Regions from separate parts of the Homo sapiens genome. Here regions 1, 3, 4 and 5 are each linked to region 2. Evidence: promoter capture Hi-C in human tissues and cell types (Jung and others, 2019). All regions are on one chromosome and are shown on one strand. The core of a region is centred on a gene start or on the middle of the fragment in contact, and the rest is flanking DNA. Distances in the headings are between cores, read along the strand shown. Region 1 has its middle 350 kb from the start of LINC01615. Region 2 holds the start of SMOC2 (SPARC related modular calcium binding 2). Region 3 has its middle 89 kb from the start of FRMD1. Region 4 has its middle 350 kb from the start of SMOC2. Region 5 overlaps LOC105378144 (a long non-coding RNA gene).

Region 1 (2,700 bases), core at 152-2,651, 370 kb after region 2:
CCATTCTGTGGATAGATACTGTCTTTTTACTTTTTTGATGGTGTCCCTTGAAGCACAAAGTTTCTAAATTTTAGTAAAATCCAAATTATCTATTTATTGTCACTGTGCTTCAGTGCTGTACCTAAGAAACCATTATCTAACTCCAGATTATGAAGGTTTACCCATGTGTTTTCTCCTGTGAGTTTTTCCAGCTTCAGTGCTTACATTTAGGTCTATTATCCATTCTTGGCTACTTTTTGATGCATGATGAGGTAGGGATATCCCTTCATTCTTTCACATTAGTAGTCGAATTTTCCCAGCACTATTTGTTAGAAAAGACAATTCTTTGCTCATTGAATTTTCTTGGCCCCCTTGTTGAAAATCGTCATAAATACGAGGATTTATTTCTGGACTGTCAAGTATATTCTATTCATGTTTTTCTGCGGGTGTCTGAGTGTCTGTTATTTTTCCTTCATTCTTTTCTTCTTTCTGCTCCTAAAATGAGATACTACGTGTTGACTTAAATGCAAGTTCTCCAGTTTTTTCTTCTACTGACTCAGATCTGTTGTTAAGACCCTCTAGGGATGTTTTATTTCACCTATCACAGTTTTCAACTCACTCCAGAACTTCTATTTGATTCTTTTAAAACAGTTTCTATTTATTAATGTTCTCTTTTTGGAAATATATCATTGTAATCTTTTAAAAATTCTTTAGACAGAGTTTCTTTTGGTGCTCGTACATATTTATAATAACTGCTGTAAAGCCTGTGCCTATTTAGTCTAAAATCTGGGTGCATTTAGAAACATTTTCTGTTGGCTGCTTTTTATCCTCTGTGTGTGGCATACTCCTGTTTATTTACATATCTTGTAAATTTTATTGAAAACTGAACATTTCAGATAATAATATATTGAGGCGATTCTAGTATCAGATTTCTCTACACACACCCAAATGTTTCTTGCTGTTGCAGAGTTTTGCTGTGTTGTTAGATTTGTTTTCATTTCCTTTGTGGCTAGTTGTCTGTTTAGTGACTTGGCCTGACTACTTTTGCAGAGCTCTAACCCCTGCCACGGGTGTCTAACCTTTGGGCTTCCCTGAGCCACACATAAAATACACGAATACTAGCCATAGCTGATGAGCTTAAAAAAAATGGTTTGTGCATGATTTTCATGATATCCACCACCGCAAATAAGCAAACAAGTCCTTATATTCAAAGGGTTGGACATCCGTGCCTACAGCATGTGGACACTGAGCTCCCAGCCTTTTGTTAAAGCTTTTCATTTCATTTTTAAGCTTGGCTTTCTAAGATTTATATCTAGGCCAGTGTAATTTAGTGATCAATCAACGATGGGTCAGTTTTCTGGCATGACTTCCATGTACATTTGGGCCATCTCTGCGAGAAGGCTTTGCCTTCCATTGTCAGGCAGTTTATGAGACAGCCTTTGCTTTTACCTTCTGCTTGCACAGGGCCTCGAGGTCAGCCAGGGGTGAGGGGCTCCTGCCTTCTTCCTCCCCAGAGCTGTCCTAGGAGTGCCCGCAGTCTGGCAGACATGCTCGGCCTTGCAGGCACCCAGCTCTCCTATGTTCATACGTATCCAGGATTTCCCTTTAAATTTCTGGTCAGTTTAAATTTCTGCTCTCAGTTTGCCCCAACTGAAGTCTATTTCTATTGCTTTGGTAATGCTTTTAGGTTCTCCATTCTGTCCTCTCAACCCCAGACACCCCCAACTGAGCTAAGAGTCAAGTGTAACAGCCCCACACTGAATATAGAGATTTCCCAGGGAGCTGCAAGTTCCTGTGAAATATTGACTATGTTCTGGGCATGTTGTTTTTAATGGAATATTGAAATTGGTAACATTTCTTTACCAGCTTTTGACTACCACAAATGGGCTAAGGAGGGAGGAAAAATGAATGTAGCCCCAAATTAAAGTTCTGGGGTCCTGATCCAGACCCCAGGAGAGGGTTCTTGGATCTCACACAAGAAGGAATTCAGGGTGAGTCCACAGTGCAGAGTAAAAAAGGATGAGTTCATGTCCTTTGCAGAGACATGGATGAAGCTGGAAACCATCATTCTCAGCAAACTAACACAGGAACAAAAAACCAAACACCGCATGTTCTCACTCATAAACGGGAGTTGAACAATGAGAACACATGGACACAAGGAGGGGAACATCACACACTGGGGCCTGTCACAGGGTGGGGAGCTAGGGGAGGGAGAGCATTAGGAGAAATACCTAATGTAGATGACGGGTTGATGGGTCAGCAAACCACCATGGCACGTGTATACCTATGTAACAAACCTGCACGTTCTGCACATGTATCCTGGAACTTAAAGTATTATAATAATAATAATAATAATAATAATAATAATAATAATAAAGCAAGTTTATGAAGAAAGTAAAGGAATAAAAGAATGGCTACTCCATAGACAGAGCAGCCCCAAGAGCTGCTGGTTGCCCATTTTTATGGCTATTTCTTGATGATATGCTAAACAAGGGGTGGATTATTCCTATCTCCTCTTTTTAAACCATTAGGGTAACTTCCTGACATTGTCATGGTACTTGTAAACTGTCATGGCGCTGGTGGGAGTGTAGCAGTGAGGACAGCCAGAGGTCACTCTTGTTGCCATTTTGGATTTGGTGGGTTTTGGCCGGCTCCTTTACTGCAACCTGTTTTATCAGCAAGGTCTTTGTGGTCTGTATTTTGTGCTGACCTCTTATTTCA
Region 2 (2,700 bases), core at 19-2,518:
CCTTCAGGAAAAGGTGCATTTCTTTCCCGTCTTTCCGTGGCCCGACGGACATCACTTTCCTGATAAAATTGTGTGGGAAAGGTTGCAATAGCATTGCCTTTGCCTCAGCAGCCAGTCCCAGAACTTGCTGATACAGCCCCCTCCCCCAAAGTTCATAGCCAAAGCAGTGGGCTAGACATCGGATGAAACCTCAGATTTGGATTTTCTGTGTTTTGTGCTTTTCCCAATGCCCCTGACAAGTCAATTGATTCATTGTTCTTGAACAAATCTTCACTCTTCTGGCTTTCTGTGTGAGACAGAATTAGGGCTTTTTCCTGTAAAGTTATAAGCCAAGGCTAAACTATGTCAGCAATGTTGTCTGCAGTGGATATTATCCAGAGTCTGGGTGTGCAAAAATTTCCTGGTTTCCAACGTAGTCTTCGTGGGTGAGTTTACAACCTCCACAAGCCCTGTGCTCCCCGCACAAACACCTGAAATGCTTTGACAGAGCTGTTTAAAAACAGCCACATGTGTCTGTGAATGATGCCCAACCACATGCTCCCCCGACTTGAGAGGATCAAGGCTACAGCCCAGGTCAGACCCCGGATCTTTAGGACCTAAATTCCCCCATCCCTGCAGTGGATAACCCCGTGTAAAGATGCCAAAGGCGGGCTGCCCCCGGCGCAGCCTTTCCTGGACATGTGTTCCCAGCTGCCTTTGCTGGAGCGCCGCTGATCCTTCAGCACCTCTGAGAGGCAATGTTCTGGGCTGGACCAGGGGGCCTTAGAGGGCAGAGGTCAAGGAGAACCCCGGAGTCTGGGGACCGGCCAAGGCTTGGCGTTAACCTTTGTGGATGAAAAGTCCCGCTGGGCTGATCCTGCGCGGACCGGGCCTGGACCCTGGGGCGTGAGGAGGGCGCGGTGCGTCCCGTGGTTGTGCTTGGAAGCCCCCCGAGGGTGCGCGCGCGTGGGTATGAGTGCGTGCGTGTGCCTGGGTGTGCGTGTGTGTAAGTGTGCACGTGTGTGTGTGAGAGTGCGCGCGGGGAAGGAGGCACAGAGACAGCCCGGACAGGCCACTGCGCAGCCCTGGTGGCCCCCGCTCCACCTCTCGCTCCGCAGACCCGCGCCAGGGAGGCCTCTGGGCCGCAGCGGGCACCGGAGCGGAGCGGGCGCGGCAGCGGGCGCTGGGAGGTGGGGCTGGGGGAGGAGAGGGGGAGGGAGAGAGGCGGGCGGGAGGGGAGGATCCGGGAAGCTCCGGGGTATTTGACAGGAGCGAGGGCGGACGCAAAGAACGCGGAGGACCTCTGGGTGCCTGCAGGGGAGCTGCTCCAGCCGGGCCGCCGGGAGCGGTGGGGAGAGCATCGCGGAGCCGCCCCTCCACGCGCCCGCCCAGCCGCGCTCGCCCACTGGGCTCTCCCGGCTGCAGTGCCAGGGCGCAGGACGCGGCCGATCTCCCGCTCCCGCCACCTCCGCCACCATGCTGCTCCCCCAGCTCTGCTGGCTGCCGCTGCTCGCTGGGCTGCTCCCGCCGGTGCCCGCTCAGAAGTTCTCGGCGCTCACGGTAAGCCCGGGCCCGCGGGACCTGGAGCTCAAGTGGTGCCGCCTCTTGCAGCCGGCCGGGTTCGGGTCCCCGCGCCCCGCTCCAGGCCCAGGCGCCTGGGCACGGGGAGCAGGTGGCCCCGGGGGCCGTGGAGCCTTCGCCTGCCGGCGAGGCTGGAGCAGGTAGGACGCAGCGTGCGCGCCTGGGACCCGGCTGGGATGGGCTTCTGGGGACCCTGCCCGCCGGGGTCCTGCTGCGGCTGCGACGGGCTCCTCGGGTTCCACCCGGCTGGGACCCCACCTGCCTCGGGGGCTCTGACCCGGCTGTGAGAGGATCCTGGGGTCCTGCAGACCCCGGACAAGTGGGAGCTGCGGGTGCGCTCGGGTGTCCCGCACTCACTGCTGGGCCTGAGCCTGTGGGGAACCAGGTCTGGGAGCGCCGGCGCCGCCCCGCGGACTGTCCCAAGGCCAAGACAGACCCGCCGGGACTGGGCGCCCACCTCGCCCACGGGGACCCGGCCTGGAGCGTGTTCTCCCGACCGCTTTGGGCTCGTGCGCCGCGCGGATCCCGGGCCTCTCGCCGGCTGAAGGGGCTGCCAGTCGTGGGCCCCACTCGTGGGTCTGACTCTCCCAGAGACCCTCGTAAGTGAGCCGAGGAAGAAGCAGATGAGGTTACAGATGATTCTTCACGGGCCTGAGTGTTATTAGAGAAGCGCTTTCTTCCCTTCTCAGGACAGAACTGGAGGCAGGCGGCGGCTCCCCGCTCTGCGGGGCCTCTGGGTTCTTCCTCGTGGCAGGGATGCTGCGCTCCTGAGCGCGAGGGTCACCGCGGTTGACCGCTGTGTGTTTTTCTTTCTGAGCTGTAACTTCTATGCGACAGCCTTGGCCCGGCCAACGCACGCGGTGTCAAACGAGGAGCTATGTAGAGGGGGCTGAGCCAAGCCCCCGCCGGCCAAGCCAACCCGCGGCGGCCGCTGGGCCAAGGCCGGGTGTCTGCAGCCCCCAGCTCCAGCCGTCCTCCTGGGCTTGCAGGGTTTGCAAACCCATCATTAATGCAATCGCCAGAAACGAAAACATTCCACTTAAATGTGTTTTTGAACAAGTGTTTGAGAAAACACGAAGGTAGTGAGAACGCCTCTGGTGGACAGCCGTCTTTTTTAAGTGGCCGGGGACTTGTCCTAAA
Region 3 (2,700 bases), core at 137-2,636, 270 kb before region 2:
CTGGGTAATTTATAAACACATGACTCACAGTTCTGAATGGCTGGGGAGGCCTCAGGAAACTTACAATCATGGCAGAAAGCACCTCTTCACAAGGTGGCAGGAGAGAGAGTGTGCAGGGGAAATGCCAGACACTTATGAAACAACCAGATCTCATGAGAACTCCCTCACTATCATGAGAAAAGAAAGGGAAAAACCGCCCACATGATCCAATCACCACCCCCAGGCCCCTCCCTTGACACATGGTGATTACAATTCAAGATGAGATTTGTGTGGGGACACAGAGCCAAACCATATCACCATTTTAATAAAACAGCCAAATGAATTGTCCAGCCTTGTGGAGAGGAAGGGAGAGGCCACCTCACAGAGACCTTTCTCCTTAAACTCAGCTAGGATATCCCAGGACAGAGGGTCATAGAGTAGCCGAGCCAGCGGGAATCAGAATCAGGATGAGATACATGCGGTGCGCTGGGGGCAGGTGCAGGGGAGGTGAGTGTGCTGGGGTGAGTGCTCTGGAAGTGAGTTAGAAAGCATTTCCAGGGACATTCCACCCAGCCTCCACCTGTCAGGTGGGCCATTCAGGTCCCAGATGGAGTCACATTAGCGTATCCATTCTCTCTTGCATGGCTTCTAAAGGCAGCGACGAGGGGGGTGATGATCAGTCCAACAATTGTAGGAACAGAACGATAACCCACATATTAATGGAGCTCTTCCAGGGAACCCGAGGCTGAGCCCCAGGGAAGCAATGGTGATGTCCTGGCTGCTGTGGTTGTGCAGTCTAATGGGAGGAGACATTCTAGACAAATTGTCAAAGCTCAGTACATAGAGGATGAGTAACAGGGGCAGCCTCCCTCCAGGGGTGACAGGGGCTGTGTGTGAGGGATAGGAGGTTGCTATGCGGGGGTGCAGGAGGATGGGCTGGGCTGGGTCATCCTGGGGTGGGAAGGGACAGAGCATCTGAGGAACAGAGATGAGGCCAGTGAAGCAGCCAGCAGCAAGGGGCGGGACAGCCAGGGGCAGGACGTGCCACCAGAGCTGTAGGCAGGAGACCAGCCTCAGGGGACCCAGGGGGGTTCACTGAAGGGCTGATTTTCATTGAGAAGGCATTGGGGGGACATGAACAAGCCTCTGTACAGAAAGTTTACTCTTCCTACAACATGGGAAATGGATTTGAGAGGGTTCAGCTGGGACCTTGAGGCCTGGGGAGCTGCTGCGGTGGCTGCAGCGTGGCCCTGGAGCTGGAGAGTGGGGGCAGATTTGAGGGAGGCCTAGGAAGTGAAGTCCAGAGGACCTGGGGATTGACGAGTCACGGGGGTGAGAGAATGTAAGCTCCACAAAGACGATGATTTTGTCGATATTCTTAGCTTTTGTATCTGCAAAGCTTGTATAAGGGTTGCTCATAGAAAGCGCTGAATACAGTCATTAAGCGAGGGACTTCCTGAATACAGTCATTAAGCGGGGGACTTCCTGAATACAGTCATTAAGCGGGGGACTTCCTGAATAGTCATTAAGCGGGGGACTTCCTGAATACAGTCATTAAGCGGGGGACTTCCTGAATACAGTCATTAAGCGGGGGACTTCCTGAATACAGTCATTAAGCGGGGGACTTCCTGAACACAGTCATTAAGCGGGGGACTTCCTGAATACAGTCATTAAGCGGGGGACTTCCTGAATACAGTCATTAAGCGGGGGACTTCCTGAATACAGTCATTAAGCGGGGGACTTCCTGAATAGTCATTAAGCGGGGGACTTCCTGAATACAGTCATTAAGCGGGGGACTTCCTGAATACAGTCATTAAGCGGGGGACTTCCTGAATACAGTCATTAAGCGGGGGACTTCCTGAACACAGTCATTAAGCGGGGGACTTCCTGAATACAGTCATTAAGCGGGGGACTTCCTGAATACAGTCATTAAGCGGGGGACTTTCTGTGTCGCTCATCAAGGCTGATGCTCAGGCTTTAGCCTGCACTGCTAGGGCGTGGCTGTGTCACCCACTGAGGCATACGGCACAGGACAAGGACTGAAATGGGAAACTGAATCCACGTGGGGCATTGCCCATTACAGAGCAAGGTGTTCCAGCAGAGACTTCCCAGAGCCAAGTCTGGCACAGATGTCGCTTCTCCATGCAAAGTTCCCTACACCCCAGGTCGATGTAGCCTTTTGTAGCTTGGCTCTCAGGACACCGGTCCACATTACTCCTGTGGTTACAATCACACTTTGCTTTATCACATTTCAACACTGAGCAATGAATGTGAGCAGGTGAGATTGCTGGATGTTTGCATTACAGCCTGGGAGGAAGAAGAACAGGAGGGCAGAGTGTGGTGCACTTACAAAATATTCGCCTCGGTGGAGGAAATGTGTGCTAAGAAAAAGATCCTCATTTTGGAAAAGCTTAACTGCTTTAATGAAGTAAATGTAAAGTTTTCTTCAGGTGAACGTTAAGATTCACTGACTTAAAAATAAAGCTTCGGCAGGGCCAGTGTGTGTCCTCTGTCCCCATGAACCACTCTGTCTCAGGAAAATGAATTCCACGTGGGATGAGTGGTGTGTTGGTGATTTTCCACGAGGGTTGAGTGGCGTGTTGGTGATTTTCCACGTGGGTTGAGTGGCGTGTTGGTGATTTTCCACGTGGGTTGAATGGCGTGTTGGTGATTCTCGCATGTTTTGGGGGTGTTTATGGCCTGCGATTTTTCTGCAGAATC
Region 4 (2,700 bases), core at 10-2,509, 350 kb after region 2:
GCAGTCTCCGCTGGCTGGAAAGGTGGGAAAGAGACCCTGTCCTGGAGCTCCAGGAGGAAGCAGCCCTGCCCACACCTTGATGGTGGTCCCCCAGACTCACCTGGACTTCTGACTTCCAGACATGGCGCATGTGGAGATTTGTGAGGCAGCGCTGGGAGATGGATGCACACTCCTTCTGCCTGGTGTGACAAGTGCATGCGGGGCTGTTTCAGCTGTGAAGGTGAGCCACGGGGGCAGCTGATGCTCCCTGCAATTACGCTGCAATCTTTCTCCACCCTGCTCCTTACACACCCTCTCTTTTCTGTGGCAAAAGCTCCAAGCCTCCCAGAGACGCTGTGGTTAAGTTAGTGAGCTTCTCATTGCTGTTCCTCCTCTGAGCGCATAGCTTACCCCTCTCAGGTAACTCTCTCACTTTCCCATCTGTCACCAACTGACTCCTGATAGTTTGTTGAAGTTGGTCTCTAGGATCTCCTCCCACTTTTTGCCAGATTTCCAGCCTTGAGCCTCCCACATGGCCCCTTGCACGAGGGGCAAAGGAGGAGCTTGCAAACGCCAGATGGAGGCATTTAATTGCCACACAGTGCTCCTGAGAAAGAGCCACTGCCCTTGCTTGCAGCCTGTGGCCACATTTGAGGTGGGACTGTCATCAGCCGAGTCCTGGAGTGCAGGGACATAGGACAGAGGCCGCAGCAGCCCCGATGACACGGCATCCAGGAGGAATCGCGTTCACTGCCTCGAGCCACTATGATTTCCAGGGCTTTTTGCAACCATAGCCTGTCCCATATTTTCCTGACTGATGCAGAAATTGATACTAAAAATGGGTCCTGCCACGGCAAGAACCCAGGGTGCTCAAACCAGAAGTAAGGAGCCTGGTGAGGGTGTGTGTGGAAACTGAGGGGTGCATCTTCCAAGGAGGGGCCTCAGCCTTCCTGAGTCCAGGGGCAGAGGAGAGCCTCAGGGCCCTCTTCAACTCTGTGTCTTCTCTTCGTTCTTATAGATTAGTGACTTTTTGTTTATCTGTCACTGTGATTTTAGTGTATACTGCAAGAATGGGTAGATATGGGTATTCAGTTTAGCATGTGATATGGTTTGGATCTGTGTCCCCACCCAATCTCATGTTGAACTGTAATGCCCAGTGCTGGAGGTGGGGGCCGGTGGGAGGTGACTGGACCCTGGGGAGAAGTTCTCATGAAAGGGTAGCACCATCTCATGTCAATCTGTAATACCCAGTGCTGGAGGTGGGGGCGATGGGAAGTGACCACTAGAATCTTTATAAAGAGGAAGGCAGAAGGGGAGAAGTTCTCACGAAGGGGCGGCAACATCTGCCTTGGTGCTGTTCTCGTGATGGTGAGTGAGTGAGTTATCATTCTGATCTGGTTGTTTAAAAGTGTGTGGCACCTCCCCCACCCCTCCTCTACCTTTTTCTTGCTCCTTCTTTTGCCACGTAAGACACACCTGCTCCGCCTTCACCTTCCACCATGATTGAGAGTTTCCTGAGGCCTCACAGAAGCTGAGCATAGGCCAGCGCCATGCTTCCTGTACAGCCTGCGGAACTGTGAGCCAATTAAACCTGATTTCTTTATAAATCACCCAGCCTCAGGTGTTTCTTCACAGCAGTGTGAGAACGGACGAGAACGCCATGTTTAAGCGGAAATTATCAAGGAATTACTGCTTCCGGGAGAGAAGCAGTAGGACTGGGCACTGGCAGCCACTTTGGGGGACTGGTGACGAGGCAGCGTGGGGCTGCAGGGAGGACACATTCCCCAGCTGGAGCCTCATGATGGTCAGGGTGAGTTCGCAGGGCCACTGTCACCAAGGCAAGGTGAGCCCACAACATGCCTGGCAGCCCGGGCACTCTCCTGCATCTGGCACCGTCCGCCAACACAGCAGTGGGACGTCTGGGAAGGAACAGAGGCTGGAGCGAGAGAGCATGGCAGACCTATCAGTAAACCCTCTCAGGGCCACTCTTTGGTCCTTCTAGAAGGATCCAGAGAAGGAATGTGTGTGTGTGTGTGTGTTGCAGAAAAATGAAGGGCCTCCAGGCACAGGTGAGGATTAAATCTACACCTTTATAGCATTAAAATCTGTGCAATGTATCAGTAAGCACACATTCAAAAAATTATGACATTGGGTTTACACAAAATTCACTATTACTGTATTATGAATACTGATCTTTTATTATATTTTCTATTCACTAAGATATTTGTTCAAAGTATACTGTACAAACATTCTGAAAAGTGATATTTGGTGTATTTTAGGGAGAATTCTAAACCATGTTCTCATTATTCTGATGGATATTTCTTGTGGCCAGTTCACTGGAGACAGTGTCCTTTGTACACATTTACAAAGCTTTTAAGAAGTACAATTGTGCAAAGATACGCCAAAACTTTTACTTTTCTGACAATAAAATAAAGATTTTGTATTGCAATTATTGGTCAAAATAGTAAAATGTGGTTGTTCACCATTGAGTCAAGGACAGGAGTTGGACTAAGAGGCACGATGGCACCAAATAAAGAGATTTGCCACGTGGAATTTGTGAAAGAAAATTATGTTTAATATACCAACTAAATAGCAATATAACATTAACTTTATGAGAGTACACTTATGTGCCATATTCCATATTAACACCCCAGGTAGGTACTTAGCATAGTATGCTGTTGTATGAACATGACACTGATTCGAAGGCAATTCATGTGTCTG
Region 5 (2,700 bases), core at 51-2,550, 420 kb after region 2:
CTTTGAGCTCAGTCCACAGCAAAGACCACCTTGGTTCTTGTCCCGCCGCAACCACATCCGAAGAAAGGGGTCAGGTATTCTAGGCGTACGGGGACTGATAAATTCCAAAAATATGTTGCCTAGAAAAGATTGTTAAAAATATAAAGGCAAGTTTTATTCATTAATGTTCCCTTGCGCTGTCTGTGAAGAAAGGTAGGTTAAAGAGGTACTTCGAAGCAAATCTGTACCAGGAAAATAGAATTTGTTTTCACATCTTTTGAAAGATAAGTGAAATTCCTTCAGAGTCCACACCCATGCTTTTATAAACCTCTGATACACTAACAAATCCAAAGAAAAATTGAAAACAAGCGAGAAAAAGGAGACAGAAAATGCACAAGATACACCGCCCTTTTTGTTTGTTTGTGATTCAGGGCTCAGGATTGACTGGGTCCTCGGGAGGGGACTCGAGGGCAGAAGGATCTATTAATCTTACAACTATGTGTTTCATTTTCCAAGTGGTCAGTTTTTTAGGTTACTTTATGAAAAACTGAAATGGAACACAGAATATGAACAATTTCTCAGGGTAAGAGCAGCTAGATGTAAAAATAACATAATGCAATTAAAGAAGAAATCTTCCAGCAAATAGAACCCCATTTCGGGGATTTTCACCGTGGGCGTGAGGGTCACACAAGACTGAAGCCCGCCCAGGAGCAGGCGAGGTCACTGCAGGTGGTCAGTTACAGAGCTCTGCGTCATAGCCCTCTGGCCCCAGACAAAATTCACTCATCTATACATTTGCTTGAAAATGCATTATTTGATATTCATTTTGTATACTTAAATACAAAATGAAATGTAACCTGATATTGAAAATAAAAACTCCAGGCAACGTCTACATTTCTATGTATTTAGTCTTTTCAAGGTCTACATTTTAAAAGCAAGAAATGAACAAAGTTAGGAATACATTATTACTCTGGCAGGAAAATTAGACGGATTGATGAAGTGGGTTCTGTCTATTGTTATTTATCCTACTAGAAATTAAACTAAAAAAACTTAAAATGTTTTTATTCTTTAATTAAAAGCACAATAGTAAATCCATTACATGCCAACATAAATAACGTGTAATGAAAAATAAATGTAATTTTTGAACCAAACCATCTTGACTGACAAGAGTGCTATACTTTCTATTGCAAATCCAGTGTCTGACTTCCCGGAAGGCAGCCAGAGTCTGAGGCCACTCCCGCACTCCATCTGTGTGGGTTTGAAGTGTGCAGTGAATACTCAGTGTCACTCCCAAATGTATTAGGAAAGAGGAGATTATTTTAATAACCTTTCCTAGGTAATTGTGGTGATTCTTTGATACCACCCCCAAGCCCCAAAGGTGGTAGCTTCTTAAAGGTGCGCTGTTGTGTGGGATCTGAGCCCTATTGCCTGGGCATGCACCTGCCCCTGTGTCGGCATCCATGGGCCCGTGGCACCGCAGATGGTCTTCGCTTGCTCGTCACTTTATACCATCCCGCAGTGGAAACAATCAGCTCACTGAGTTCTGCAGATCTTCCAAATGTTGACACTTCTCACTACACAATATAAAAAGCATTTCTGTTGACCTCCCCACAGATGTCCTCAAAACACCCTTTAAGCCAGTGACAGGCTCACAGAGGGAGACACAAGGTCTTTGGGATTGTCACTTTCATAGTGATGCTTGAATTTTTATCATAGGCAACAAAAACTGTCAGCCGTCATCCTTGAAATGACAGACTCCCTCATTTTTGAGAAATGTCTGCCAGTTCTAGTTCCCAAGTCTGAATGACCAGGGCTGGCAGGTCGGTCATGGTCTTAAGTAACCGTGGTGACCCATGGGAGGAACTGCCTGTGATCCCTGAGTTTCCATAGCCCTAAATTATTGTAATGACGATATCCATGGAAGACTTGTGAAATTATACAATTATAAAATGTGCAATAAAGTCAACAGGAGATTGCTCTTGGATAAGCCCAGCACAGGGAAACGTAATTTGACAGTTGATTGGCCCCCCGGTGCTTTTCTGAAAAGAAATCACCAAGGCCAGGAGGGACACGAAACGCTTCTTCGTGTGTCGGCCCGTGTGCAGAATATCTCCAAGATATAAATGACTAAGAAGACTTAATTTGCCACCACAATATGTTTGCTGCAATTAATTTGGGGTGACTTGTATTTTAGCTTGGATCAAAAATGGGATCTGAAATGTAAAGAACACTGTTAGATTTCCCCACAGGCCGCTCTCTCTTTGGGTGATTTGCTAACTTTTAATTTGCATTGATTCTCTGAAGGGATCTTAATTCAGATGTCTCTCCACCTCTTCGCTGTAGTTTTACTTGGCCTTAGTCACGTGATCTTTGGGAGGTTTTAGGGAACGTTATCTAGAAAAAGAAATCACTTTAGATATTAACAAATGCAGAAATGAATCAGTCCATTCATCATTAGGGAAAATGAATTGTTCCAGAACCCAGGATTCTATAAAGTAAAATAACACTTACTTTGGAATTGCTAAGGGGTTTAAAAACACCCACTCCATCAAGCCTGTGAGCTGAACCCCAGGCCTGCACGTATGGCGGAGTGTGTAATGCCTGTGTGTGTTTCAGAGACCACAATTCCCAGTCCCCACTCCAGGTCCTGTGCCTCCCTGGGCGCTGTGGTTGGTGAACCCCAGTGGGCTGTTTAGGTGTTGAACTTGTACATAACTTGTA

Evidence for each region. Contacts are between HindIII fragments. The study calls those that stand out against the background at their distance.
Region 1: a contact is called between a fragment that was not itself captured here and the fragment with the promoter of SMOC2 in region 2, in 3 of the 25 tissues and cell types used here (H1 embryonic stem cells, aorta and heart right ventricle).
Region 3: a fragment that was not itself captured here is called in contact with the fragment with the promoter of SMOC2 in region 2 in 1 of the 25 tissues and cell types used here (H1 embryonic stem cells).
Region 4: a fragment that was not itself captured here is called in contact with the fragment with the promoter of SMOC2 in region 2 in 3 of the 25 tissues and cell types used here (bladder, dorsolateral prefrontal cortex and mesendoderm cells).
Region 5: a fragment that was not itself captured here is called in contact with the fragment with the promoter of SMOC2 in region 2 in 2 of the 25 tissues and cell types used here (H1 embryonic stem cells and dorsolateral prefrontal cortex).

What each region holds. Positions count from the first base shown.
Region 1 is chr6:168,806,974-168,809,673 of GRCh38, forward strand. No RefSeq gene overlaps it. Among named protein-coding and RNA genes, the nearest start is that of LINC01615, 350 kb to the right of the region's middle. The HindIII fragment of the contact is 4,095 bases long and covers 1-2,700 here.
Region 2 is chr6:168,439,916-168,442,615 of GRCh38, forward strand. It overlaps SMOC2 (SPARC related modular calcium binding 2), which reads left to right and starts at 1,269. Exons shown (of 13, transcript NM_001166412.2): 1 at 1,269-1,539. The coding sequence starts at 1,456. The HindIII fragment of the contact is 15,076 bases long and covers 1-2,700 here.
Region 3 is chr6:168,167,149-168,169,848 of GRCh38, forward strand. No RefSeq gene overlaps it. Among named protein-coding and RNA genes, the nearest start is that of FRMD1, 89 kb to the left of the region's middle. RefSeq lists an enhancer at 1,141-2,340. The HindIII fragment of the contact is 3,232 bases long and covers 1-2,700 here.
Region 4 is chr6:168,789,348-168,792,047 of GRCh38, forward strand. No RefSeq gene overlaps it. Among named protein-coding and RNA genes, the nearest start is that of SMOC2, 350 kb to the left of the region's middle. The HindIII fragment of the contact is 7,957 bases long and covers 1-2,700 here.
Region 5 is chr6:168,861,337-168,864,036 of GRCh38, forward strand. LOC105378144 (a long non-coding RNA gene) reads left to right here. Exons shown (of 2, transcript XR_943297.2): 2 at 1-1,130. Among named protein-coding and RNA genes, the nearest start is that of LINC01615, 300 kb to the right of the region's middle. The HindIII fragment of the contact is 6,663 bases long and covers 1-2,700 here.